Linked DNA regions of Homo sapiens: all the other regions are linked to region 4. The links are contacts of gene promoters, found by promoter capture Hi-C in blood cells and fetal thymus (Javierre and others, 2016). All regions are on one chromosome and are shown on one strand. The core of a region is centred on a gene start or on the middle of the fragment in contact, and the rest is flanking DNA. Distances in the headings are between cores, read along the strand shown.

Region 1 (6,684 bases), core at 3,020-5,519, 520 kb before region 4:
CTGCCCTTCCAGAGGATCACCCGCCTCAAGATGTTGGTGGAGGTACCTCGAGGGGACAGGCCACAGTGAGGGCTGGGCGAGGGAGATACACCTGTGGGCGGGCCGGGTCTCGGGAGTATGAGGACTGCCTCATTGTGCTGATCCCACCTTCCAGAACATCCTGAAGCGGACAGCACAGGGCTCTGAAGACGAAGACATGGCCACCAAGGCCTTCAATGCGCTCAAGGAGGTGAGCTGGGCAGGGCAGGGGCTGCTTGGCTCCTGAGGCCCCCCCTGGACCCCCAGCACGTCTCTAAAACAGCCCCCAGCTGTCAGAGTCTCCGGTCCCCAGGCAAGAGTCTGAGGCTGGGCTCTGGGAGCCGGAGCTGAGGGGCTGCAGGTGACCTCCCCACGGCTCCCCCAGCTGGTGCAGGAGTGCAATGCTAGTGTACAGTCCATGAAGAGGACAGAGGAACTCATCCACCTGAGCAAGAAGATCCACTTTGAGGGCAAGGTGTGTGTCTGCAGCCAGCGGGATGGGGACCCCAAGGGGCAGCTCTTGTTTCTTCCTTGCCCTGGGGGCTTCAGGCCAGTTAATCGCTGCCCACACCCTCCCATCTACCATCTTGTGCTCTCTGCCTGGTGCCCCTGGGCCTGACCCATCCTTCTCCATCCCTCTAGATTTTCCCGCTGATCTCTCAGGCCCGCTGGCTGGTTCGGCATGGAGAGTTGGTAGAGCTGGCACCACTGCCTGCAGCACCCCCTGCCAAGCTGAAGCTGTCCAGCAAGGCAGTCTACCTCCACCTCTTCAATGACTGCTTGCTGCTCTCTCGGCGGAAGGAGTGAGTCGGGGCAGTCAGGGGTGGGTAGGTAAAGTGGAGCCAGGCTCTCTTCCTCCCCACCACTGGGCTTATGACCAGTCCATCCCTGGGCCTGGGAGTCCCTGCCTGTGCCAGGGTATGCTGCCAGGGCACCCTGAGATTTGGAGGCTCCTGAAGCAAAGGCAGAGATGTGAGACAAGTCCATGTTCCAGAAGGGAGAATCAAGGGCTAGACTGTATGCCGAGGACTTGGAGATGCTGTGAGCTTCAGCCAGTAAGAGCAGAGACTAAGAGCATAGCCCTAGAGTCCCAACTCTGCCCTGAGTCACAGCTATGCCAGAAGCCAACATTTACTCAGTACCTACTCTGTGCAAGGCATGCTACGTGGATTATTCCCTTTAATCCTCCAAATACCTCCCTGGGAAATAGGCTTCTCTGTTACTCTCAGATCATGGAGCTAGTAGGTGGGGGAGCCAGGAGGATGCCAGCTCTGTCTGATGGCAGCACCATGCCTGACTCACAGTGAACACTTGTTCAGTATTAGCTGGGATTGTTAGGAAGAGTGAGGTAGAAGACTACCTGGATAAGGTGAATGGGATAAAGGATGGACATGTGGGCTGGGCACGGTGGCTCACACCTGTAATCCCAGCACTTTGGGAGGCCAAGGTAGGAGGATCACTTGAGTCTAGGAGTTCAAGACTAGCCTGGGCAACATAGTGAGACCCCATCTCTTAAAACAAAAAAGGATGGACATGTTATGCTATAAGAAGAATTCATTCCTGATTTGTTTGTTCATTTAGTAAACAGTCACTGAATCTCTGTTCTGTAGCAGGCCAGTGCTAGGGACATAAATATGAATGAGACTTGTTTTCTGCTCACAGAAGCTCTCAGACAGTGAAAATACATTCTGACAACCATATCATCAGGGTTTTGATATAAGGGTGTACTGCGGTATTTCCTGGTGTGGAGTGAGAATCAATAAAGCTTCATAGAGGACAGGACATTTGAGCTGGGTTTTGAAGGATGAGTAGGAGTTTTCCAGGTAGACAGGTAGTTTGAGTGCAGGAGTACAGCAGAGTCATGGTAGGGTAGAAGAGCGGAATGTGTGTTTGGGAATCATGAAGCCTAATGTGGCTGGATTTGTAAAGGAGAAAGGCAGCAGAGGGAAGTTGGGATGTTGAAGGTCATGATAGAGAGGTTGGACTTTTTCTGAGGCAGCAGGGAGCGTGGAGAGTTAAGCAGAGGGATGATATTTTGCTCCTGGCCAATTTGGAGGATGAACTGGAAGGGGAGAGGCCAGAGGGTCTTGCAGTTGCTCAGGAGAGGGTAGATGCTCCAGAAGTGGCAGGGTACTTCAGGATAAGTGGATTCAAGGGACAATAAGGAGGAAAGACAGGACATAGCTACCAGATGGGTGTAGGGGGGATGGAAAGGGAAGAGGTGAGCATGACGTCTGAGTTTCCTCTTGGGCAAACTGGTGGGGTCTTTCACTGGAATGGAGAACAGTAAAGGGGATCTGGCTTGGAGTGGGAGAAGCTGAGTTTTTTCTGATGCCGAGTTTTGTTGAATGAGTTGACGTCTGTGGAACACCCTCCACCCATCCTGCCTACAAGTACTTACTGAGCCCAAATTGTGGGTCAGGCAGTATCATCAGACACTGAGATACAGTGGCAAAGAGACGAGGCTCAGCCTTCGTGGGGCTTATATACTGGAAGAGAGTTAGACACTCCTCAGGGGAGCTGTCCAGTTGGCTCTTTGGAACAGACGCTTGGCAGAGAGGTTCAGAGAGAGGTCATGAATCGCTTGAACCTGGAAGGCGGAGGTTGTGGTGAGCCGAGATCATGCCACTGCACTCCAGCCTGGGAGACAGAGCGAGACTCTGTCTTAAAACAAAACAAAACAAAAAGCCAAAAAACTAACAAATAAAAAAACAAAAAAAAGAGAGAGAGAAAGGTCAAAAGTGTGCTTGGGGCTCAGGGACTGGTCTCCATCACCTCCAGCCTCCACCAGCAAGCCAGCGGGGAAGGAGCTCTTGGTTCCTTGTGGGGACTAGCAGTGCCCTATCCAGAAGCAGGACCCTGTGAGAACGCTGGCAGGGCAGGCAACCCCTTCTCCCCACTTCCAGTCAGAACCCACCTGATCCCGAGGGTGGGTGCCTAGAGCCAGGGCCCAGGCCAGGCTGACCTCCCCTCCCCCGGTCCTCCAGGCTAGGGAAGTTTGCCGTTTTCGTCCATGCCAAGATGGCTGAGCTGCAGGTGCGGGACCTGAGCCTGAAGCTGCAGGGCATCCCCGGCCACGTGTTCCTCCTCCAGCTCCTCCACGGGCAGCACATGAAGCACCAGTTCCTGCTGCGGGCCCGGACGGAGTGAGTGGGCCTGGATATGGGAGAGAGGAGGCTCCCCCTCCCCATGACAGGCACCCCGTCCCCATGATGGGCACCCCGTCCCCATGGCGGGCACCCCTGGGACATCCTGGCCTTGTTCCTCCCCAAGTGCTCAACTCTTCCCTGACTTGGGCAGGACACAGGGGCAGAGGGCAGGGCTGGAGGCCAGAGTAGGGGTGCCTGCCCCACAGGTGGTGTCAGGGGGCTGCCACCTCCTCCTCAGCCTCTGGGCATCTCTTGGATGTAAACCTCCACACCCTGCTATCTCTGGCTTCAGGACTGTGGCATTAGGCAGGATGGGGGTAGGGCTGGCATCCAGGGGGTTCTGGGCCTGTTATGCTCAGAGCTGGGTGGGGCACAGGCTTGGGAACCGGGTTGTGGGGTGGGCCCTGGGGTGGGGCAGACATGGGTCCCTAGGGTAGGCCTGGGTCCTAGGCCTGGACATCATGTCTGGCTCCCCCAGCCTTGGTTTCAGCACCCTGCCCTGGGCAACTGCACTTTGCATATTGTGACAACTTAGCCTCCCCCTTCCCTAGAAGTGAGAAGCAGCGATGGATCTCAGCCTTGTGCCCCTCCAGCCCCCAGGAGGACAAGGAGGTCATCAGTGAGGGGGAAGGTAGTAGCTCATCCCTGCTGCTTACATCCCTGGGCTGGACCCTCGCCCGCTCTCCTCCCCTCCCATCCTGGGTGCTGTGTTGCTGGCAGGGCTATGGGGAGAGAGACCAACTTCTGGGGCAGTCAGGGGTAGCTCTGAGGAACCTTGAAGGCTGGGCAGAACTTACATAGCACAGGTGGACTCTGTGTCCACAGGCAGCATCCTGGAGATCATAAAGCCTTCGTAGCCTCCCATTTCACCCCTGTTTTACAAGTTAGAAGAGAGGTTCAGAGATAAATGGACTTGTGTAAGTTCACCCAGCCAGTAAGTAGCAGAGCCGAGACCAGAGCCCAGGTCTGTCTCCATCTTTGCGTCAGTTGCAAACAAGACAAGAAGCAGCCAGAGCCAGGGTATGAGGGGTGGTGGGGGTAGTGGTGGCAGGTGAGGCATCTGCTCAGCTGGAATAAAGGTTTTTCCTTTGGGTGTGAAGTGAGGCTGGTAAGCCAGGGTGCGACCTAATCATAGAGAGCCTTCCTATAGTGTCCCTAGGGAGCTATTGAAGGTTTGTTTGGGGTTTTTTTGAGACAGGGTCTTGCTGTATTGCCCAGGCTGGAGTGCAGTGGCATGATCATGGATCACTGTAGTCTCAACCTCCTGGGCTCAAGTGATCCTCCTGCCTTAGCCTTTTGAGTAGTTGGGACCACAGATATGCACTACCACACCTGGATACCACACCTCTATTTTTATTTTTTGTAGAGATAGGGTATTGCTATGTTGCCCAGCCTGGCCTCAAACTCCTGGACTCAAGCAATCCTTTCCCTTCAGCCTCCCAAAGTGCTGGGATTATAGGCATGAGCCATTGTGCCTGGCTTATTGGAGGCCTTTATTTATTTATTTTTTTGGAGACACAGTTTTACTCTGTACCCCAGGCTGGAGTGCAGTGGCACAATCTCTGCTCATTGCAACCTCCACCTCCTGGGTTCAAGTGATTCTTATGCCTTAGCCTTGCGAGTAGCTGGGATTACAGGCACTTGCCACCACGCCTGGCTTTTTTTTTTTGAGACAGAGTCTCACCCTGCCATCCAGGCTGGAGTGCAATGGCACAATCTTGGCTCACTGCAACCTCCACCTCCCAGGTTCAAACAATTCTCCTGCCTCAGCCTCCCAAGTAGCTGGGATTATAGGCGCCTGCCACCATGCCCAGCTAATTTTTGTATTTTTGGTAGAGGCAGGGTTTTGCCATGTTGACCATGGCTGGTCTCGAACTCCTGGCCTCAAGTGATTCACCTGCCTCAGCCTCCCAAAGTGCTGGGATTACAGGTGTGAGCCACTGCACCCAGCCTTAATGGAGGCTTTTGAGCAGAGGAGTTAGGGCTGAGCTTTAGGTAGTAAAGGGAAAGAAAGGGCACTCATGCCCACTGAGCGCCTGCCATAGGCCAGGCCCAGGGCTAGGGGCCTTGTATTTGCATTAAATCTAATTTAATCCTCATGGCAACCCTACTAGGTAGACATTTTTCATATCTGAGAAAACTCAGGCTTAGAAGGTGAAGTAAATTGGTCACACAGCCAGTAAGCGGCAGAACTGGGATTCAAGCGAGGTCTGGCCCCTCAGTCTGTGGCTTTGGATGCTACCAGCCCACCTGGTCTAATGAAAAGAGCTGAGGACCAGGAAGGGGGTAGATGCTCTGGCTTGAGCTAGGAGTCCCACCTGGGTGGGGGTAAGCTCTCTATTCCCAGGTGGTCAGGGGAGGTCCCTGGCAATTAACATCTGACCCCTGAAGGATGAGGAGAGGTTGTCACGAAAAGATCTGGGGAAGAGCATCTGGCAGAAGGAAGAGCCAGCACAAAGGCCCTGGGGCAGGAGGGAGCTTAGAGTGAGGAACAGCAGGGAGGCTGGTGTGGCTGGAGCTTTGTGAGCGAGTAGGGAGGGAAAGTGGAGGGGAAAGTAGGGAGGGAAAGTGGAGGGGAGAGTAGGGAGGGAAAGTGGAGGGGAGAAGACGAGGATAGCAGGGGGCGATGCCAGACCATGAAGGGCCTTGTAGGGCCTAGGGAGGACTTTGGATTTTATTCTAAGAGGACTGGGAAGCCCTGGAGGGCTTTAAACGGGAGCGATGCAGCTTGAATCCCAGTTGGGAAGGATGGGCCAAAGGGAGCACCAGAGTGATGTTAGGGGCACATTGCAGGGCCGTTACTGTTTTCTGTGGGGTATCTGGGGGCAGTTGGACGTTGGGGTCTGAAGGTCACAAGCAAGGTGTTGGCTTGAGCTGGGGAGGGGACAGCCCTTGGTATAGAGGCAGAAACTGAAGCTGGGAGGGACTGGATTAATCCTGCACTTGTGTTTAGGGTAGGAGAGGAGATAGGCCAGGGTGGGCAGAGGGTATGCCTGCTTGAACGTGGGCCTGTGGCATGGCAGTGGCAGAGGAATAGAAGCCTCAATGGCCACCTTCCCACCCCCTTACTTCCTCCTACTGCCCCTCCCTGCCCTACCCATGCTCCTCCCCCTGCCATCCTGCCCTTGGGACTCCCTGAGCCTCCCTTGGGCTGTCAGATTGCCCCCAGGTTCAGTGTGTTAGGACATACAAGGCACTGCACCCAGATGAGCTGACCTTGGAGAAGACTGACATCCTGTCAGTGAGGACCTGGACCAGTGACGGTGAGGGGGCCTCCTGGGAAAGTGTCCCTGATGGGGCTTGGGTGGGCAGGAGGTGGCTAGATGACTAAGATATCACAGGGAAAGGTTCTGCAAGTGTTGATCTGCCACAGCATGTGGGAATCAGGTTAGATGAGAGGAGGAACTTCCTGCTTGTAAAGATATAGGATGGAGAGTGATGGGGGAGAGTGGGAAATACCCTTTCAGAGGATATCAGGAAAAACAGGTCAGAAGTTCATCTGCAAGACAGCTCAAGA
Region 2 (6,515 bases), core at 1,216-3,715, 690 kb before region 4:
CAAGCAGGCACCACCACACCTGGCTAATTTTGTATTTTTAGTAGAGACAGGGTTTCTCCATGTTGGTCAAGCTGGTCTCGAACTCCTGACCTCAGGTGATCCACCTGCCTCAGCCTCCCAAAGTGCTGGCATTACAGGCATGAGCCATCGTGTCCGGCAAAAAATTTAAAACATAAATAAATAAATCTAGCTATATCACTCTTCTGCTTAAAAAAAAAAAAAAAACTTCAAAGCTCCTTGCACTTTCAGGACAAAGTTCAAGCTTCCAGAACCAAGTACAAGGAAGCCTTTCCCAATCTGGCCCCTACATACCTCTGTGGTCTCATCTCTTTCCACTCAACCCTGCCAACCCTCTCCCCTTCAGCCAGAAGGAAATACTTGTAGCCCTCCCAATGCTGTGTATTTGTCTCTCGGCCTCCTCATCCATGCCTGCTTTGGCCCTACACTCTACCTGCCTCTCCCAGACTTACCACTGCTTAATTCAACTGATCTTTCAAATCTTAACTTAGGCATCGTCTTCTTTACAAGACTTTCTCTGATCCAGCCATGGTACCCCACTTATGCCTCTTCCTGAAGGTGCTGCCGGACCTGTCTGACTCCCCCACTAAACAGGGCCTCCATGCCTGGTATGCAATAGTTATTTAATGTTTAATGACACCTTCCTATGGACTCATACACCATCCAGCATCACTGATGGGGCAATGTTTGGATAACTGGCTCATGGGGGTAGAAAGTAAACATAAATTTCAATTCTTAATCCAGAACACCAGTCATCCTTTAACTTATTCAAGATGCATTTTCTTCCCACTAGCTGCATGCCTTGACCTGGAGAAAAAGAATAAAAGGAAACTTGCAAGATACAGGGAAATCAGAGAGGTTGTCAGTGCTTTATAATAACCACTGGTCCAATTACATTTTTATATCATCTGCTGCCTTCCCCTAGCTGGGTTAGCTCATTACCAACACTATGAACTCTTTTTTTTTGAGACAGAGTCTCACTCTGTCACCCAGGCTGGAATGCAGTGGTGCGATCTCTGCTCACTGCAACCTCTGCCTCCCAGGTTCAAGAGATTCTCCTGCCTCAGCCTCCGGAGTAGCTGGGATTACAGGCACCTGCCACCATGCCAAGCTCATTTTTGTATTTTTAATAGAGACGGGGTTTCACCATGTTGGCCACGCTGGTCTTGAACTCGTGACCTCAGGTGATCTGCCCGCCTCAGCCTCCCAAAGTGTTGGGATTACAGGCGTGAGCCACCACGCCTGGCATATTTTATTGATTGTCTTAAACAATTGGGGATATAGGACGAAACCCTGTCTCAAAAAAAAAAGAAAAAGAAAAAGAAAAAAGTGTTTGCCATACTAACTAAAAGCAAAAAGTCTATTCACAGAATATGTGAGGGACTTCTCAAAGTCAGTCTTTCTCCAAATGACACAATAGGACTTGATACTAAGAATTCGGAAGCTATACAGGAAACAATGACCTCAGATGACTCACACACACAAAAATTCTTCCAGTCTGGGCAATATGGCAAGACCCTGTCTCTACAAAAAAATTTTCTTTTTAAATTAGCCAGGCACATAGTGGTACACGCCTGTGGGCCCAGCTACTCAGGAGGCTGAGGCTGCAGTGAGCTGTATTCCGACCACTGCACTCCAACCTTGGCAACAGAGCAAGACCCTTCTGTCTTAAGAAAGGGGCCAGGCGCAGCAGCTCACGCCTGTAATCCCAGCACTTTGGGAGGCCGAGGCGGGCGGATCACGAGGTCAGGAGATCGAGACCATCCTGGCTAACACAGTGAAACCCCATCTCTACTAAAAATACAAAAAATTAGCCAGGCGTGGTGGTGGGTGCCTGTAGTCCCAGCTACTCGGGAGGCTGAGGCAGGAGAATGGTGTGAACCCGGGAGGCGGAGCTTGCAATGAGCCGAGATTGCGCCACTGCACTCCAGCCTGGGCGACAGAGCAAGACTCCATCTCGGGAAAAAAAAAAAAGGGGAAAAAAAAAAAGGAAAAAAAAGGAAGGGAGAGGGGGGAGCAGAGGGATGGGAGCAGAGGGAGGGGAGGGGAGGGGAGAAATTCTACATGATGTCAAAAAATTTTTGGCTGGGCATGATGGCTCATGCCTGTAATCCCAGCACCTTGGGAGGCTGAGGCGGGTGGAGATTGCCTGAGACAGAAATTGCCTGAGACTGCAGTGAGTGTTCCCCACTGCACCCCAGCCTGGGCAACAGAGCAAGACCCTGTCTCAAAGAAAAAAGACAAAAATTTTCTTGTGGTGTTGGAGGGCAGGGATCTCCAAAATCCTTTACTTCCAAGGATTAGAACTGCCGCTGGATTTTTGTGTAGTTTCAATTTTCCCATTTAGGTTATTAGTCTTCACCCAGTTTTTGCTGTTTTGGAGTAGGGTATTCAAAGCTCATTACCAGTAGGAAGAGGGGATAACCTGAAGCCAAGACTTTTACGCAATTGCCTATATATGAAAGACATGTATAGCCTGCAGTCCATTGGTTTCCCAGTGATGTGGACATAACATCTCCCTGGCTCCCCTCTTTCAAAAGTGCATATTTACAAGAACCTTTGTGAAATTTGAAAAGGGAATCAAATTCAAGACAGCGTTCAAATATAAGCCCAGACAAACTATTAAAAATGAAAGCTGGCTGAGGGCAGTGGCTCATGCCTATAATCCCAGAACTCTGGGAGGCTGAGGCAGGAGGACTGCTAGAGCCCAAGAATTCAAGGTTGCAGTAAGCTATGATTATGCCACTGCACTTCAGCCTGGGAAACCAAATGAGACCCTGTATCTAAAATAAATAAATATTTTTTTTTTTAATGAAAGCTGCCAGGCATAGTGGCACATGCCTATAATCTACTGGGAGGCCCAGCCTGGGCAATCTCATCTCAAAAAATAAAAAAAAAATTAAAAAAAAAAAGGCCAGGTGCAGCGGCTCATGCCTGTAATCCCAGCACTTTGGGAGCCTAAGGCAGGAGGATCACTTGAGGCCAGGAGTTCGAGATCAGCGTGGCCAACATGGTGAAACCCCGTCTCTACTAAAAATACAAAAATTAGCTGGGCGTGGTAGCATGCGCCTTGTAATCCCAGCTACTCGGGAGGCTGAGGCACGAGAATCGCTTGAACCTGGGAGGTAGAGGTTGCAGTGAGATGAGATTGAGCCACTGCACTCCAGCCTGGGCAATGGAGTAAGACCTTCTCTCAAACAAAAAAAAAAAAAAGGAAAAGAAAGAACACCCAATTCCCAAATTTTCCACATGTCCCCAGGTAGAGAGGTAGCAGCAAAATGCTAGAGAAAAAAAGCCCAGCCTTGAAGTCAGACATGCTTGGGATCAAATCCCAGCTTCCCCCAGCTGTGTGATCTTGCGCAAAACAGGTTACTCTCGAAACCTCCGTTTCCTTGTCTATAAAAGGGGGACAATGCCTCAACAGGTTGTTTCAAGGATTCAATTAAATAAAATATATTAGAGAACCTGCATTTTGGCAGAAGTGTTCATGATGTCAATAAGGCAAGGTTTGTGTTCCACCTCTGTAGTTTTTTTTTTTTGTTTTTTTTTTTGATGGAGTTTCACTCTTGTTGCCCAGGCTGGAGTGCAATGGCATGATCTCGGCTCACTGCAACCTCCGCCTCCTAGGTTCAAGCAATTCTCCTGGCTCAGCCTCCCAAGTAGCTAGGATTACAGGTATGTACCATAGGGTCCAGCTAATTTTTGTATTTTTAGTAGAGATGGGGTTTCACCATGTTGGCCAGGCTGGTCTGGAACTCCTAACCTCAGGTTATCCACCCACCTCAGCCTCCCACAGTGCTGGGATTACAGGCGTGAGCCACAGCACCTGGCCGCGGTACATTTTTAAAGGATATTACTAAAGTAAGGGATAGCAGAAAGAACTCTGGCTTTCTGCCTCCGCTGCTGCCATGGCTTCTGTGAAAAAGCCTGTGGTGAAGGGGGGCAAAAAAAAGAAGCAGGTTCTGAAGTTCACTCTTGAATGCACTCACCCCGTAGAAGATGGAATCATGGATGCTGCCAATTTTGAGCAGTTTTTGCAAGAAAGGATCAAAGTGAACGGAAAAGCTGAGAACCTTGGTGGAGGGATGGCGACCATTGAAAGGAGTAAGAGCAAGATCAACGTGACATCCGAGGTGCCTTTCTCCAAAAGGTATTTCAAATATCTCACCAAAACATATATGAAGAATAATTTACGTGATTGGTTGCTCCTAGTTACTAACAGCAAAGATAGCTACAAATTATGTTACTTCCAGATTAACCAGGACAAAGAGGAGGAAGATGAGGATTAAATTTCATTTATCTGGAATATTTTGTATAAGTTTTTCAATAAAACTTGGGAACCAAAAGAAAAAAGAAAGAACACGCGACAAGCGTCAGAAAGACCTAAGTCTCTAAATCTCACATCTCTAGGCTTATTCAGCTGTTAAATGGGGGACTGTACTAGCTATTTCTAATTGACTTACCCATTCTGAAAAACTAAAGTAAGCCCCAATTTCTGCTGAATCCTATTCATTTTTGTTCATTTGCCTCCAACTTCTCTAACATGAGGGATTTATGACCCTTTGAAACAGGTGAGGAAAACCAAAGAAAGGCCAAGATGCCCAAGAAACGTATCATTTGCATGATATTAAAGTTGTAAGCCAAGCTTTTTTATAGGGATGTCTGGATGATTCACTCAGATTAGTGGTAGGCAATAAACGCCTGTACCGAAAATGTTGCATTTTCTGGCACAAAGTCACTGATAAGCACACTGCCTAGCATATAGCAGACACTCAAAAATGCTGGTTGAATGAACAAGGAGCCAACTGACACCTGTTACTCCCTATAAAATCTTTAACTTTCTTAAGCCAAAACTCAAGAAAGATGGTTGTCACATTAAGAACTCTACTAAATATCCTCTGAACGAACGAATCCTTCAAATTCTCAATTATGCTAAATGGAAAAACATAAACAACCGTTGAGAGAAATGCTGAACCAGCGGAAAAAACTTCAAAGCCAAGTTTCAACATTCCCGTAGAGCTAGATACACCCACTGACTGCTGCCAGGGTCAATTTCCCGGCCTCTTCCAGAGCTCATAAGCACCCCCAAAAAGCGCTTAGGAAAAAAAACCCAGCGCCTACTCTACCCTGGTACGCTCGACTCCTCGCACACGTAAACCTTTAAGGTGGATGTCAGTGCAGCCAGCATTGAACAGACGCGAACACGGGGAGACAAAAAAAGCATCTCCCCATATTCACAAGGGTCACCACAGACAAACTCTGAAAAGACCAAATTATTCACAAATCTAAGAGAATTGACAGATCCTCTTTGAGATAAACTATTTTCCTACAGTTTCTGGAGGCAAACAAAAACTCCAAAAACAAGTCGAACGGTCCATCTCCCCACTCCTCTCCCAAGAATGTGGCTGTTTTACATATCACACCCTGGACTCCGACAAGCGAACTCCTAGACCTTCCCGGGGCCTCGGATCGCTGAGTGGCAGAGGAGCTGCCCCGCAGAGCTTTCGGTTGCTTTGGCAGAGTCCCCGTGAGACCTGCCTGCCTGCCCACAAACTCTTCTTGGAGTAAAAGTGAAAGAGAAAAAAAACCCGACTCGTCCACCGTGACGGATGGTGGGGGATTTTAGCAGAGTTGAGTAGCCCAAAGAGGATTCAATTTCCCCCCGCCCTCGGCTGCCTCCTCCCGCTTTCCTGCGAAGCCGGACATGCCTCCTTGGTCCGCGCAAGCCCCACCACCACCCACATGGTGTGTCCGTCCCGGTCAGAGCACAAGAACTTTAAAATGGTGCCTCGGGCCACAAGGCTCATCGGAAAGAGTCACAGAGGCCCACGGCCAGCAAGTGGGCGCGGGGGGTCAGGAAAGGAGGCCCCGGGTGGCGGGTGGGGCGCCCCGGGTGACGCGCGCGTTAGTGGGCGGAGGGAGGCGCACCAGGCAAAGGAAAGGAGAGAAATGGATCGCGGCCCCTTTAAGAGGCCTTCACGGCGCTCAGGAACTGGGGGCCTCTCCACCACCCCCAGCCCGGCGTATGGGGCCCTTCCTTGGGGAGAACTATCTCCAGACCCGCTCCCCGGAGGCTCCCCTCACGCCAGGTCTCGCCCGGCCCTGCCATGGGACGGCGGCTCCTCCTTACCCCGCTGTCTGCCGCCTCTTCCCAGCTCTCAGCGACCTCCTCATCTTCCATCTTACTCGCCGCTTTCCCTCCTCCCCCACCCCCTCCCCGCGCCTGCGCTTTGAAGCGCGCCTCCGTCGCGGGCGCAGGCACGCAAGGCTTTACTCAATGGACCCCGCCCGCTGCCAAGCCCGGAAGAGGCGCCAGGCAAGGTCCCAAGTGTACATTAGGGCAGCCATCTTGGAAGGGGGCAGAGAAGGCGGAAAGATGCCATCTTTCTTAAGGGCCAACGCGTTATCTGTCTTACAGAATGGGCGTTCAAGGGAAGTCCTCATCTCGAGTACCGGAAGTGTGTTCTGTGGAACCATCTTTTCTAAGGGCAGGCAAT
Region 3 (6,832 bases), core at 1,783-4,282, 570 kb before region 4:
TGTTTTATGAATACTTTTAAAAATTCTATGAATATGTCCCACCTTAAAAGGTATATATTCTTTCTTTCTTTTTTTTCTTTCTTTCTTTTTTTTTTTTTTTGAGACAGAGTCTTGCTCTTTCACTCAGGCCAGAGTGCAGTGGCTCAATCTCGGCTCACTGCAACCTCCACCTCCTAGTTTCAAGCAATTCTTGTGCCTCAGCCTCCTGAGTAGCTGGAATTACAGGCGTGGGCTACCATGCCTGGCTAATTTTTTAATATTTTTAATAGAGACAGGATCTCACCATGTTGGCCAGACTGGTCTGAAACTCCTGACCTTAAGTGATCTGCCTGCCTTGGCTTCCCAAAGTGCTGGGATTACAGGTGTGAGCCACTGCGCCTGGCAAGAGGTATATATTCTTATACTGCATTTATAATTTCTTTAAGCCCAGTATCTCAAATCCAAATCCACATTCTAGTCTAGAGAGTTTACATTACTATTTTGCTGAAGTCTGTGATGTGTTTATTTGTTTTTTCTTTTTTCTAACTGTTTCATAGTACTGATGATTTCCAAGTTAGAGGCAAGAACTTGGAAGCTTTGTCTGGTATTTCACAAATTAAATTATTTTAGAGCAATAGTTGTGTTTTAACTAGACCATTATATTACTTAGGCTTTCTAATTGGGCTAGGAGATAGATCCCCTTGGGGAGGTAAATGTTTTTGACCAGGAACAGTAAGGCTATATGAAAGACAACAGCCTCTTTAATCACTATTCTTGTGGGATTTGAGGGTAGAGAATACCTCAGCACTTCAGATTGATGTGATAACTCTTCCTAGAGAAGATTTCTGACTGGGTGAGGTGGGTAATGCCTATAATCCCAGCACTTTGGGAGGCTGAGGCGGGAGGATCGCTTGAGGCCAGGAGTTCGTGGCCAGCCTGAGCAACATAGCAAGACCTGATCACAACAAAAAAATTTTAAAAATTAGCTGGATATGGTATTACATGCCTGTAGCCTCTGCTACTCGAGAGGCTGAAGCAAGAGGATTGCTTCAGCCTGAGGAAGTCGAGGCTGCAGTGAGCCATGATCGCATCACTGCACTCTAGCCTGGGTGACAAAGCTAGACCCTGTCTCAAGATTAATAAATAAATAAAGACTCATTTCTACAGTCAGTTCCTGTGGTCTGGATTAGTGTTGGTTTTATTTATGAAAGTATTCAAAATAGTTGACACGGACAGGCACAGTGGCTTACACCTGTAATCCTAACACTTCGAAAGGCCAAGGCGGCAGGATTGCTTGAACCCATGAGTTCGAGACCAGTCTGGGCAATGCAGGGAGTCCCCATCACTACAAAAAATTTAAAAATTAGTCGGGCATGGTGGTGCTTGCCTGTATTCCTAGCTATTTGGGAGGTTAAAGTGGGAGGATCCCTTGAGCCCAGGAGGTTGAGGCTGCAGTGAGCCGTAATTGTGCCACTGCACTCCAGCCTGGGCAACAGCAAGACCCTGTCTCAAAAAAAAAAAAAGGAAGAAGAAATGAAAAATAGCTGATGCCACATGGTGTTCTTAGATGCTCACCCTGTACTCTTCAGGACTGATGCCTTCTCAGTAAATCGTATTGTTCCCCTAAGTGAGATCACAAGAAAGACAGTCCTCTGCTCTACCTTCTCAACCTTGAGACTTTGTAAGTGACACCATTAAAGCAGTCTGAGCAGGGCTTTTCAAACAGTGTTCTGTAATGTGCTACTGAAAGAGGAAGCAAAGCTCTCCACCTAGATTGGAGCATCTCGACTGCTGTCAGGTTAATGTAGTGTTGGGATTTCTTCTGCTTAAGATATCCTTTGAAAAATGAGTCCTGCAGCTTTAACCAAAAAGAAAAAAAAAAGATTTTAAAAAAAAAAGTATTCTCAGCGAGGCATGGTGGCTCACGCCTGTAATCCCAGCACTTTGGGAGGCCAAAGCGGGTAGATCACCTGAGGTCAGGAGTTTGAGACCAGCCTGGCCAACATGGTGAAACCCCATCTCAACTAAAAATGCAACAATTAGCTGGGCATGATGGCAGATGCCTGTAATCCCAGCTACTCAGGAGGCTAAGGCAGGAAAATCACTTGAACCCAGGAGGTGGAGGTTGCAGTGAGCCGAGATTGCATCATTGCACTCCAGCCTGGGTGACAAAGCGAGACTCCACCTCCAAAGGAAAAAAAAAGTATTCTGGTATTTACTGACACCTGGATATTGGGACAAGTTACTTTGGTCTTGAGGAAACTAAAGGTGACATGTAGAGTGAGGGATGGGGAAAAATAGCAATTGTTATTTCAAAGACAATAGATTTTGAAAAATTATGCTCCTGTAAGACATTTGTTATCTCTAAAGTTTTCCAGCATAAGCCAAAGTGTTTTTTTTCAGAATTTGGTCAGTGTAGCCCAGAGGTCCAGTCTAGATGGTGTTTGGTGTAAGACTTATGGTTTCACTGGAATTCCTTCACACCAATCCTTGAAGGTCTGCCCCATTTGTGCTAGGCTGAGGCTATCTGGTTATGTGAAGCCCATAGCTAGGGGCCTGGAGGTCCCTATGTTAAAATTTGACTCACGGGACAAATAAGAACTGCCTCCTGCCTCCTTTTCTTACCTGTGTTTTGTAACGAGTTATTTTTAAGTTGCATCCAGACATCCAGCCTCTATGTATACTTCTCCCTGGTCCTCTACATTCTTTCTTTTCTTTGTGACCTCTGTTAAGTTTGTTAAAGGGATGGGAAGGGGTGCTCATTTGTTGAGCACTTTCTATGTGCCAGGCATTATGTTAGGTGCTTTGAATATACTATTTAATACTCAAAACAGCCTTATGAGATAGGTACTCTCATCCCTAATTTTAGGTGAGCAAATTATAAACATGAGAGAGGCTAAGTAACTTTTCTCTAACTCATATTTCTCTGTTAATAATAAAAGACGTGTGAATTAGTGATGATTTTCTCTCAGACTCAAACCCAGTTTTCTTTCCACCTTTCCTCTACACTTTGTAGTATTAGTTCCCCTTTTGTTGCTCTTCCAGGGAAAGGTGATCTATGGATAGCCTAACTACGGATTGTTGTGAGATCCTGAATGCTAACCATGGTGTTACTGACTTTCCCTAGGGTCCTATCCTTCCCCCAAAGCTGGAGCAACTCTGGTCGTGTACAAGGACTTGCTAGTGCTGTTTGGTGGCTGGACGCGGCCAAGCCCTTATCCCCTACACCAGCCAGAGAGATTCTTTGATGAAATACACACTTACTCACCCTCTAAAAATTGGTAAGTCACAAAGATAAACTCTTTAAATCTGGAAGAAAAGGCCTTAAATCAGTGGATTCTTTGTTTTTTTGTGTCAAGAGTCCCTTTGAGAATTAGATGGAAAGCTGTGGACTCTTTTCCCAGGAGGGGAAAAATGCACATATTCACAGATTTTACCAACAGTTTCAGAGAGTTTACAGGACTCTCTTAGAACCCTGCATTTAGAATCCTTATTCTAAAGAGAAAAAATAGAAGAGATTTATTCCTCTTTCAAGAAAAATGAATGAGCCAGTTGAAGAACAGCGAGCTCTTCAGCTTTGGCTGCTAACACTCCAGGAGTGTTGTAGATCCAGATGATTCCTTACTCCTAACTGTGTCTCCAAGACTTACTCTGAATTGTTTTTCAAACATATATCTCTTAATGACAGCAACCGCCGTTTCTTGTAATGGAAGACTTAGTACGTGGCGCTTGTTAGCTGTTACTGATCAGGACCATAGGGAAAGGTAGCAGGTGGCAGGTGGTGCTTTGTCAGCAAACCAGGCCAAAGAAGCCATGATCTTGTCTCTTGTCATCGTTTTCTCATCTCTCTCCCTCCAGACCGTTTACATTCAGAACTTGAAAGAAGATAACTTTAAGCAAACTTGTAGGAAAGGCATAAATACATTATGCCATCCTCTACTTATTATCCCAACAAATCTCTGCTGAAAGTGATAGGATTATCATTTTAAATGGATGCCTACTTACTATTTTTACATAAAGTGTGTGGTGCTGACTTCTTGACTTCCTCCTGTCTTTTTACATTAGGTGGAACTGCATTGTGACAACCCATGGGCCACCTCCCATGGCTGGCCACTCCTCCTGTGTGATAGATGATAAAATGATTGTCTTTGGTGGCTCTTTAGGATCCCGGCAAATGTAAGTACATTTGGTTTGCTCCATATGAGCCTGAAGGTAAATACTCCTGGGAATAACAGGTTTAAAAGTGAATTAGGGACCAGGTGCCTAATTCACACCTGTAATCCCAGCATTTTGGGAGGCCAAGGTGGGTGGATCACCTGAGGTCAGGAGTTTGTGACCAGCATGGCGAACATGGCGAAGCCCCATCTCTACTAAAAATACAAAAATTAGCCGGGCATGGTGGCACACACCTGTAGTCCCAGTTACTTGGGAGACTAAGGCAGGAGAATCGCTTGAACCTGGGAAGTGGCGATTGCAGTGAGCCAAGATCACCCCATTGCATTCCAGCCTGGGCAACAGATCGAGACTCTTAAGGAAAAAAAAAAAAAAAGTAAGTTAGGGTCAGTATTCCTGAGCATGGCTCTAATTAATCCAATTAGTTATCTCATCCTAGCATTCTGTTCTTTAATCCCTTAATCACAGACCAATAAATTGAAAAATTTGCTCTATAAAATCATAGTTATATAGAATCTCTTTGACATATGGTTCTATTCAGTAGGATCAAATTCTGATGGAACCTCCACCTTGCCTGCTGTGCTGTGCCTGCAGAAGGCCAACTTTCGAGAACAGAATGCTTTTACTTATTCTACTTTATTACCCAGCTCTTGCCCTTTTGGGCTTTAGAGGAGAAGAGGGGGAGATTGACAGGACAAGTGGAAATGGTGGGCCCTCCAAATGTGATAGGTTGGTTGAGCCACATGTAAAGGGCATGAAAAGAAAGAAAGAAGGAAAGAAAAGAAAAAAACAAATGGGATGGGTTGTGGAATGGGTAGGAACAGGAAAACTGTGTCAGGCATGACATTTCTGTGAGGTCATTGTCCCTACCTCCTGTCCTGTCCACTTCTGGCCATACTGGACAGCTCAAGCCATAGTCAGGAGCCAGAGCATTCCATCTGTATCACTGTCTGATTCAGCGGTAGCAGCAGTTGTGGTCATTCCCCCTGTGCTCTGAAGTGGAAGTTGATGAGCTGTCAGCAGCAAGACCATCCCACACCTGTCCTCCCTTAGGGCATTTCCATCTTCATATTTTAAAACAGTTATGGAGAGAGATTATAGGAGCTACTCTCCCAATGAGAGAGTTTAGGATTTCAGATATTGGAACTATTATTCCTGTATTTTTGTGGGTGAATCAATGACCTTAAGTGACCATGAAAGAGAGACTGCCATCCAGGAGTCTGTCCTCGTCATGTTGGTCCCTTGAGGGTTAGAGATGCCAGTCTGTCCTTGATAAAACTGCAGCTTTCATTAGTCATTGTGCAATTACTTTTTGTAGCCAGAATCGATAAAGCTTTTAACTCCTGGACAATGATGAAGCTGCCTTTTGAATCGTTTTTTCTCTTCTTTGTGGTTTTTGCTTTTGAAAACTGTAGCTTAACCAGTGTCTATTTCCTGCTGTCACCAATTAACTATTTTTTAATCATCTGCTTTTACTTCAGTTAATAGATGGTTAAAAAAATAATCTCATTAGGCACTAGTGTCTGGCCGCAGACGTGGCTCAGATGAGGCCTCGTGGAAAGAGCAGAGGGAGGGTCTCAGGATGACTTCTAGGGAAAGTAGGGGAAGAAAGATACAGCCTAAGTGCTAAGTAGGAGCATAACACTTTGCTGCGCATCTTTATAAAGGTCCCTTCATTTTATATCAGCTCCTCAGACAGTAGTAACAGTATTTTCATTTTAGAGATAAAGTCAGAGTTAGAGAAAATTAAGTGACTTGTTCAGGCTACAGAGCTGGGATTCAGCAACATGGTCTCTTTCTGGTTCAGAAGCCCCTGAACTCTGAGTAGGGCATCTCTAAAACCTGCTCCAGCCCACACAGTCTGTGAAAGTGAAAATGGTGCAAGTTTGCCAGATGGGCCACAGGCATGTGGAACTCCCCAGCCACCATTATGGTCCCTGGGAGCTCCTAACTACCTTTATCCTTCTGTCCTTAATTCACAGGAGCAATGATGTCTGGGTCCTTGACCTTGAGCAGTGGGCGTGGTCCAAGCCGAACATCTCTGGCCCCAGTCCTCATCCTCGAGGTGGCCAATCTCAGGTGCTCAGGAATTAAAATAACTATTCAGCAAACACTGTAGCGTCTTTCAGTTAGGACGGGAGAGGGAGGAGGGAGTCAGGTAAGATGCCAATATGCACTAAGCCAAAGAAAATGTATCATTCTTTTTTACTGGTATTTATTTTTCAACTTCTAATGGGTCATATTATTTATAGTGGTTTTATATTATGCTCCTCCCCAAAGCATTTACTTTGCTGTGTCATTTCTCAAGAGAATCCTGCATTTTATGTGGTTGACATTCATGTTAATATTTGATCAACAAAGAATGTATCCTTTCAGGTGAATTATCAGTAATTTATTCACAGGGATCAGAATTGATATGTTTTTAGGAGAATGGAGAGGTTATGGTAACTAGAATATTCCCATTTGGGAGCTAGGTAGGCTATTCTCATATACCAGTGAAGCATAGAAAGTCAGAAACCTGTGTCTTTGTAGGTTTATTTTCAATGTCTTCCCCTCCTCAGATTGTCATAGATGATGCAACTATCTTAATCCTCGGAGGGTGTGGCGGTCCCAATGCTGTGAGTATTGCTTCTGTGGCATTCCCATGTGCATGCTACTAAGTGTTCAAAACCTGTTTCCC
Region 4 (6,751 bases), core at 750-3,249:
TCCTAACAATGATGCTGCCCATGGCTTTGGTTGTGATACACCCAGGGATGGGTTTGCAGTTTCTAGTGTGACATTTTCTGGGGTGCATTCCAGCTCAATAAGTGTCCTTGTCCAAACACCTACAATTATATGCACCTCAACAAACACACCTAACTCATAAGTGACAGCCTGACTTACAAAGTGAATCTCTGCCTTCAAAAGACTCATGCTTATACATGTGACAGCGTGCCCCATGTCTACTGCCTCTCCATCACAGACTTTCTCCATTCATTTGTTTGAAATCCAAAGACAAACGCCGGGCCTACCTAAAGCCACAATCAGCCCAGATTAGATTAGAAAGGTCACCTGTGTTCCTTTCTCTTCCATTAGGAAAGATGTACTGCTTCTCAACAAAGTATTTGCTCATCCTGCCCTCCTTGAGTAAGCAAAAACCATACCCCATTACATTAGCAAAGCTCAGTAAAACTACGTAAAACTCTTGTTGGATCTCTGCAATGTTACTTTAGCTGTGCTTTTAGAGGAATGTTTTCAGTAAGGGCAATTCGAGAATCTATTTTCTTTTTAAGTCACATTTATCTTTATGAAAGGTAAAATAGCTTGCCTGTGTTGCTTTTGAGGAATCTCAGTGGGAAAACAGACAATTATTTAAATATGATGGTTGATCTAATTAATTCTATCCATTTTGCTTCTTCAAGTAAAATAAGCTGCTGAGTCCCTCACCCAAGCCATTTTCTTTCTCTTTTTTCTTTCTTTCTTTCTTTTTTTTTTTTTTTTTTTCAGTTTCTGAGACTATCTGGTGAGCCAGGAATTCAAATTACACAAACACACACACAGAGAGGGAGAGAGAGAGAAAAATCCATTCTGATTTGGCCATTTAGGTTTTCAGTGAATATGGATTCTTTTAAATTTATTATTATTATTTTTATATCCAGCCCAAAAACGTCAGAATATGGATTCTACCTTCTAGCACGGACCCTTTTGCGGATATGCCAACTTCATCACAAATACATGCCCTTGACAGGTATGTACTCATTTCTACCTGGAATTGGGACAGTGATGTTTACTGCGGCAAGCCCCACAGCAAGGTGTCTGTGGTGTCACCCGGTTCCCCGGATCAGCATCCAAAATGCAATCCCCATGTACTTCAGGTTCTTATAATCAAAGCCCCTAGTGAACCTCTTCAAAGCTACCATCCTTGAGCAAGATTATTCAGGGGACTTCCCAGGAGCAGAGGCAATGTCGCCGGGACCCAGGCCATGGGAAAGTGAAGTTGCTTATCACTGGCCTCCACCCTGACTGCCAGACCCTGGGCGACGCCAGCCTGGCGGGGGGACCCGGGGATGCAGCGGATTCCACAGGAGGCTGCATGGGGTTCCTTCAGGAGCTCCCGGGGGCGCCGCTGCCCCAGTGGGGGACCGGAGGGTCGCTGACCCCTCTCCGGGAGGGCAGGGCCCCGGGCCAGGTTTGGGGAAGCTCCGAGGATGCTGACCTCAACTTTGTTCTTTAAAAATAGCTCCGAGGCCGCGGCGCTCACGTGAGCGGCGCCGCTTCCCCTCTACCGGCCCGGGGCTCCCGGCCGCTCGTCGCCCCCCGGGTCGCGGAGGGGAAGGGCGGGGGGCCCCGGCCCGGGAGAGCGCCGCCGGAGGGCGTGGGGGGCGCGGCGAGGAAGGGGCCCCGGCCGGGAGGGAGGCCGCGCTCACCTTCTTCACCGACAGCGAGATGTTCTCCAGGATCCGGTCCTTCACCTCCCCCGGCTCCATGGCGCTGCCACCGTCGCCGCCACCGCCACCGCCACCGCCGCCGCCGCCCCGCCGCCGCTTCCCGCGCCGGGGGCCGGGGGCCGCCGCCAACCGCTGCCGCCGGCCGTACGGGGGCTCCGTCGTGCCGGCCGCGGGGCCCGGCGCCCGCCGCCCGGCCCTCGCCTCGCCTGGGCCCTCGCTCCACCGCGGCCCGGAGGCTCCGGAGCGCGGCCGGCGGGGAAGGAGGCCGCGGGCTGTGCGCCGCGGCGGCGGCGGCGGCAGGAACTGATGTCAGGCGGGGCGGCGCCAGGGCCCGCCTGCGCCTGGGGACTCCGGGGACCCGGAGACCCGCACAGACCCTTGGCCGCGGCCCTCCCCAGAGACCCCGAGACCCGCCCCCAGCCCTCCTCAAGTCACAGACTCTCCCCGGCACCCCAGAGACACCCTCAGACCCCAGGGACGCCAGAGACCTCGACCCCGCCTGCCGGGGACCTCGGGGCTCCTCAGAGACCCTCCCCAAGCCCTCCTCAGCCCACAGATTCCTTCAGGGACCCCAGAGACACCCTCAGACCCCAGGGACTCCGGACACCCCGACCCCGCCTGCCAGAGACCCCCACAGACCCTGGGACCCCGGCCCTCCTCGGAGACCCTCCCCCAGGCCTCGTCAGCCCACAGATTCCCTCAGGGACCCCAGAGACACCCTCAGACCCCAGGAACTCCGGAGACCCCGACCCCGCCTGCCCGGGACACCGGCCCTCCTCAGAGACCCTGGAGACCCTCCCCCTCAGCCCTCAGGCCATAGACTCCCCCCTGGGACCTCAGAGACACCCTCAGACTCCAGGGACTCCGGAGACCCCAACCCCACCTGCTGGGGACCCCCACAGACCCTGGGCCCCCAGCCCTCCTCAGAGACCCCCAAAGACCCCGAGGCACTGGCCCTCCCCAGAGACCCTGAGACCCTCCCCACAGCCCTCCTCAGCCCACAGGATCCCCCCACAAAACCCCAGAGACTCCCACAGGCCCCAAGGACTCTGGAGACTCCGACCCCACAGGCCAGAGACCCCCACAGACCCTGAGACCCCGGCCCTCCTCAGAGACTCGAGACACCCACAGACCCTGGGCCCCCTCCCGCCGGCCCTCTTTAGTCCACAGACCCCTCCTTGGAGACCCCAGTGCACCCCACTAACTCTGGCCAGGGACCCCAAGACCCTCTTAGCCTGCAAGCCCCACTTATCTTCCTCCCCTTCCTTAGCCCAGCCACCCCCTCAATGTGCAGACCCAGGCCCCCTGGCTTTCGCAGCCTGGAGGACCCAGCACCCCCACCGGGTCAGCCTAGACTCCAGTCCCCAGCCCTAGACCCTCCCTGGGCCCCCTGGCCCTCCACAGCCTCCCCTCCTCAGTGCCTCACCCTCAAGGCCCAGTCCTACATTTGAGGTCCCTGGTGTTCCTCCCCACCCCCAAAACACACCCTCCTCACCTTCAGCCCCAATGCCCCATTCCCACTCCTTATCCTTATCCCTCTTCTTCAGCCCCACGTATCCCAAGGGCCTCAACTCCCTCAGCCCCTGAAACCCACCGTAACAACTCTCTTCCCACACACCCTCCTCAAATCCACCATCTCATAAAGCCCCTGCACTTAGAGGTGTCAGTCTCCTACCTGGCTCTCTTCCCTCCTTAAGTTCCCAAATAAATATATCCTGACACATAGATTAGTCCCTCCTTTTTATTCTCAGACACCCCAGTTCTCAACTCTGGTTCCCTGGTCTTCCCTCTTCTCTGCTCAGGCCACCCCATCCCTGAAGTCCCCTTAGCATCTGAAATACTGATTCATTGCTTATCTCAGAGGGACCCCACAAGCCTCCAAAGGTCGCTCCCCAGCCCCTTAGTTTCCCAAGGAGAGACCCAAAATAGTGGTACTTTGTTTTTTGTTTTTTTTGTTTTGTTTTGTTTTGTTTGTTTTTGAGACAGAGCCTTGCTCTGTTCCCCAGGCTGGAATGCGGTGGTGCGATCTCTGCTCACTGCAACTTCCGCTTCCCAGCTTTAAGCGATTCTCCTGCCTCAGCCTCCCGAGTAGCTGGGACTACAAGTGCATGTGACACCATGCCCAGCTAATTTTTTTTTTTTTTTTTGAGGCGGAGTCTCGCTCTGTCACCCAGGCCGGAGTGCGGTGGCACAATTTCAGCTCACTGCAACTTCCTCCTCCCAGGTTCAAGTGATTCTCCTGTCTCAGCCTCCCCAGTAGCTGGGATTACGGGCGCCTGCCACCACGCCCAGCTAATTTTTTTGTATTTTTAGTAGAGACGGGGTTTCGCCATGTTGGCCAGGCTGGTCTTGAACTCCTGACCTCAGGTGATCTGCCCGCCTTGGCCTTAAATTATTTTTTAAAGACAGGGTCTCACTCTGTCACCCAGGCTGGAGTGCAGTGGTGGGTGTGATCATAGCTCACTGTAGCTTGAACTCCCTGGGGGATCCTCCCACGTCAGCCTCCCCAGTAGCTGAGAGTACAGAATAAAATACGCCCAGCGAATTTTATTTTTTGTAGAGACAGGGCCTCGCTCTGTTACCCAGGCTGGTCTTGAACTCCTGAGCTCAGGCCATCCTCTTACCTCAGCCTCCCAAAGGGCTGGGATTACGGGCATGAGCCATCATGTCCAGCCCAGGGCGTTTTCTTATTTGTACTGAGTTCAGGAAAGCAAGAGATAACAGCCTCTTTGGAGTTGTTATCTACCTCTCATATTCAGAGAGCAGAATAAGAACAGATGAGGGTTGAGACTCCAGTCACTGGATAGGTAGAGAAAAGGTTGAGGACAGAGGACACATTACTTTGAATGAGGAAATAAATAGCCAGGTATCTATGAGTAGAAATAGCCTCCTACTTACCAAAGGTGTTTGTGGAGTCAGAATTGCGCACTTCCTTCCCACTCCATCCTGGCTAGGGTGCATACAGGCCCCAACCTGCTGGATGCAGCTCTGGTTCATGAAAATGCAGTCCCCCAAAACTGACCCAACAAGCTTTGGGATTCTTCTCTGCTGTTGAATAGCAGGCCATCTTCTGCTGAGCACTGCGTTCTGCTGGGCACCTCCTCCCTAGGAATGGCTGATCATGGCTTGGGCACATGGTACACTCAGTGGGTATTTTTATTCCTTGGCTGTATGCCTGGGGCGTCCACTTGGTCTGTGACATAAGAAGGTGGTGGCATTTCTGCCATATTGTTTTTATCTGCATGTATTGGGAGATGGTCACATTCAGCATTTTACAACATTCAGAGGAATGTAAGGTCTCACTGTCTACCAAATTCCTAAGGTTTGCATAGGTATGTGAGCTGGTACAACAGACATTGTTATCTAACAACACTTCTTGCAGGAAAGAGGGAGAGGCCAAATGTGCATTGATGTGCAGCTAATTGCTCCTTGTCCAGAGTTCAAATATGGAATCCGTTCTGCGTGTCAAACACAGGGCGAGCCGGGCATGGTGGTGCATGTCTATAGCCTCAGCTGCTTTGGAGGCTGAAGAGGGAGGATCTCTTGAGCTCATGTGGCTGCACTCCAGCCTGGGTGACAGAGCAAGACTTCACCTCTTAAAAAACCCCAAAAAGCAAACCAAAAAAAAAAGGGTGACTCTGAAAAACACAAGATACTTATTTGTTATTGGGAGTCACTTAAGCTGGAAATTGAAGCTCATTCATTTATTGCACAAGACTTTTCTGATCTCATGAGAAGTGCATGGGACTCTGAGTCAAAAGGCAACAAGAATTAAAAGCCTCAACTGACTCATGCTAGGGCCTCAGGCAAGTCACTTTGCCTTAATTTCCAAATCAGTGACCCAGGAAAAATGATTCTATTCTTATTTTTTGTTGTTGTTGTTTTTTGAGATGGAGTTTTACTCTGTCGCCCAGGCTGGAGTGCAGTGGCTCCATCTTGGCTCACTGCAACCTCCGCCCCCCCCGGGTTCAAGTGAGTCTCCTGCCTCAGTTTCCCAAGTAGCTGGGATTACAGATTCCTGCCACTGCACCTGGCTAATTTTTGTATTTTTAGTAGAGTTGGGGTTTCACCATCTTGGCCAGGCTGGTCTCGAGCTCTTGACCTCATGATCCACCTGCCTCAGCCTCCTAAAGTGCTGGGATTACAGGTGTGAGTCACCGCGCCCAGCCTGTTGTTTTCTGAGACAGAGTCTCGCTCTGTCACCCAGGCTGGAGCGCAGTGGCGTGTTCTCAGCTGACTGCAGCCTCTGCCTACTGTCATAGCATTTAGAATACAGTCCATACTCTTTTCTCTGGCTTCCAAGGCTGATCTGATCCAGCCTCCCTCCCTGACTCATCTCCTAACTCTCCGCTGGTGTGTGCCAGCCCCACCAACCTTAGTTTCTCAAGCATGCTGGTCTGTTCGCATCCGAGGGCCTCTAGCTATTCACCCAAATCTGCTCTCTCTGGCTGCGTGTGATGGCTCACGCCTGTAATCCCAGCACTTTGGGAGCCCAAGGTGGGACGATCACTTGAGCCCAGGAGTTCAAGACCAGCCTGGGCAACAAAGTGAGACCCCCCATCTCTACAAAAAATCCAAAAATTAGCCAGGCATGGTGATGTGTTCCTGTGATCCCAGCTACATGGGAGGTTGAGGCTGCAGTGAGCCATGTTTGCACCACTGCACTCCAACCTAGGCAACAGAGCAAGACCCTGTCTCAAAACAAAAGCCAAACAACAAAAAAACAAAATCTTCTCTCTCTTTACACAGTAATAGGGTTGTAGCCAGGCAGAGTGCTGCACTACATTTCCCAGCCTCCTTTGTGACACGCACAGCTATATGATCAAATCCTCTCAAATAGAACATGAACAGAGAAATGTGATCCATTCCTAGGCTGGGATTCTATGCAAATTTCCTCTTCCATGCTGTTTCTTCTTCTACCAGTGCAATGAAGCCAAGGGGATGTCAGACATATAAAATATAGACACCCTAGTTCCCTGAATCACTGCATGGAAGAGAGCTGTCCATCAACCTAGAACAGCTGCCTTGAG

The links. The method cuts DNA at HindIII sites, captures the fragments that hold promoters and counts their contacts. A CHiCAGO score of 5 or more calls a contact.
Region 1: a contact is called between a fragment that was not itself captured here and the fragment with the promoter of PLEKHM2 in region 4, in 1 of 17 cell types (monocytes). The highest score is 5.5, in monocytes.
Region 2: a fragment that was not itself captured here is called in contact with the fragment with the promoter of PLEKHM2 in region 4 in 1 of 17 cell types (total B cells); the score reaches 5.3 in total B cells.
Region 3: a contact is called between a fragment that was not itself captured here and the fragment with the promoter of PLEKHM2 in region 4, in 1 of 17 cell types (activated CD4 T cells). The highest score is 6.8, in activated CD4 T cells.

What each region holds. Positions count from the first base shown.
Region 1 is chr1:16,198,896-16,205,579 of GRCh38, reverse strand. It overlaps ARHGEF19 (Rho guanine nucleotide exchange factor 19), which reads left to right. Exons shown (of 16, transcript NM_153213.5): 9 at 1-42; 10 at 155-229; 11 at 404-493; 12 at 661-821; 13 at 3,006-3,164; 14 at 3,719-3,798; 15 at 6,326-6,430. Among named protein-coding and RNA genes, the nearest start is that of ARHGEF19, 10 kb to the left of the region's middle. The HindIII fragment of the contact is 4,968 bases long and covers 1,786-6,684 here.
Region 2 is chr1:16,366,942-16,373,456 of GRCh38, reverse strand. It overlaps SZRD1 (SUZ RNA binding domain containing 1), which reads right to left and starts at 6,215. Exons shown (of 4, transcript NM_001114600.3): 1 at 6,149-6,215. The coding sequence starts at 6,199. It also overlaps the pseudogene RPL22P3. RefSeq lists enhancers at 5,419-5,708, 6,459-6,515. The HindIII fragment of the contact is 4,401 bases long and covers 265-4,665 here.
Region 3 is chr1:16,253,034-16,259,865 of GRCh38, reverse strand. It overlaps FBXO42 (F-box protein 42), which reads left to right. Exons shown (of 10, transcript NM_018994.3): 5 at 3,107-3,260; 6 at 4,045-4,155; 7 at 6,135-6,231; 8 at 6,714-6,770. Among named protein-coding and RNA genes, the nearest start is that of CPLANE2, 19 kb to the right of the region's middle. The HindIII fragment of the contact is 4,911 bases long and covers 577-5,487 here.
Region 4 is chr1:15,679,568-15,686,318 of GRCh38, reverse strand. PLEKHM2 (pleckstrin homology and RUN domain containing M2) reads right to left here and starts at 1,999. Exons shown (of 20, transcript NM_015164.4): 1 at 1,701-1,999. The coding sequence starts at 1,760. RefSeq lists enhancers at 1,016-1,075, 5,935-6,435 and silencers at 1,306-1,375, 1,896-1,975, 2,066-2,145. The HindIII fragment of the contact is 15,543 bases long and covers 1-4,753 here.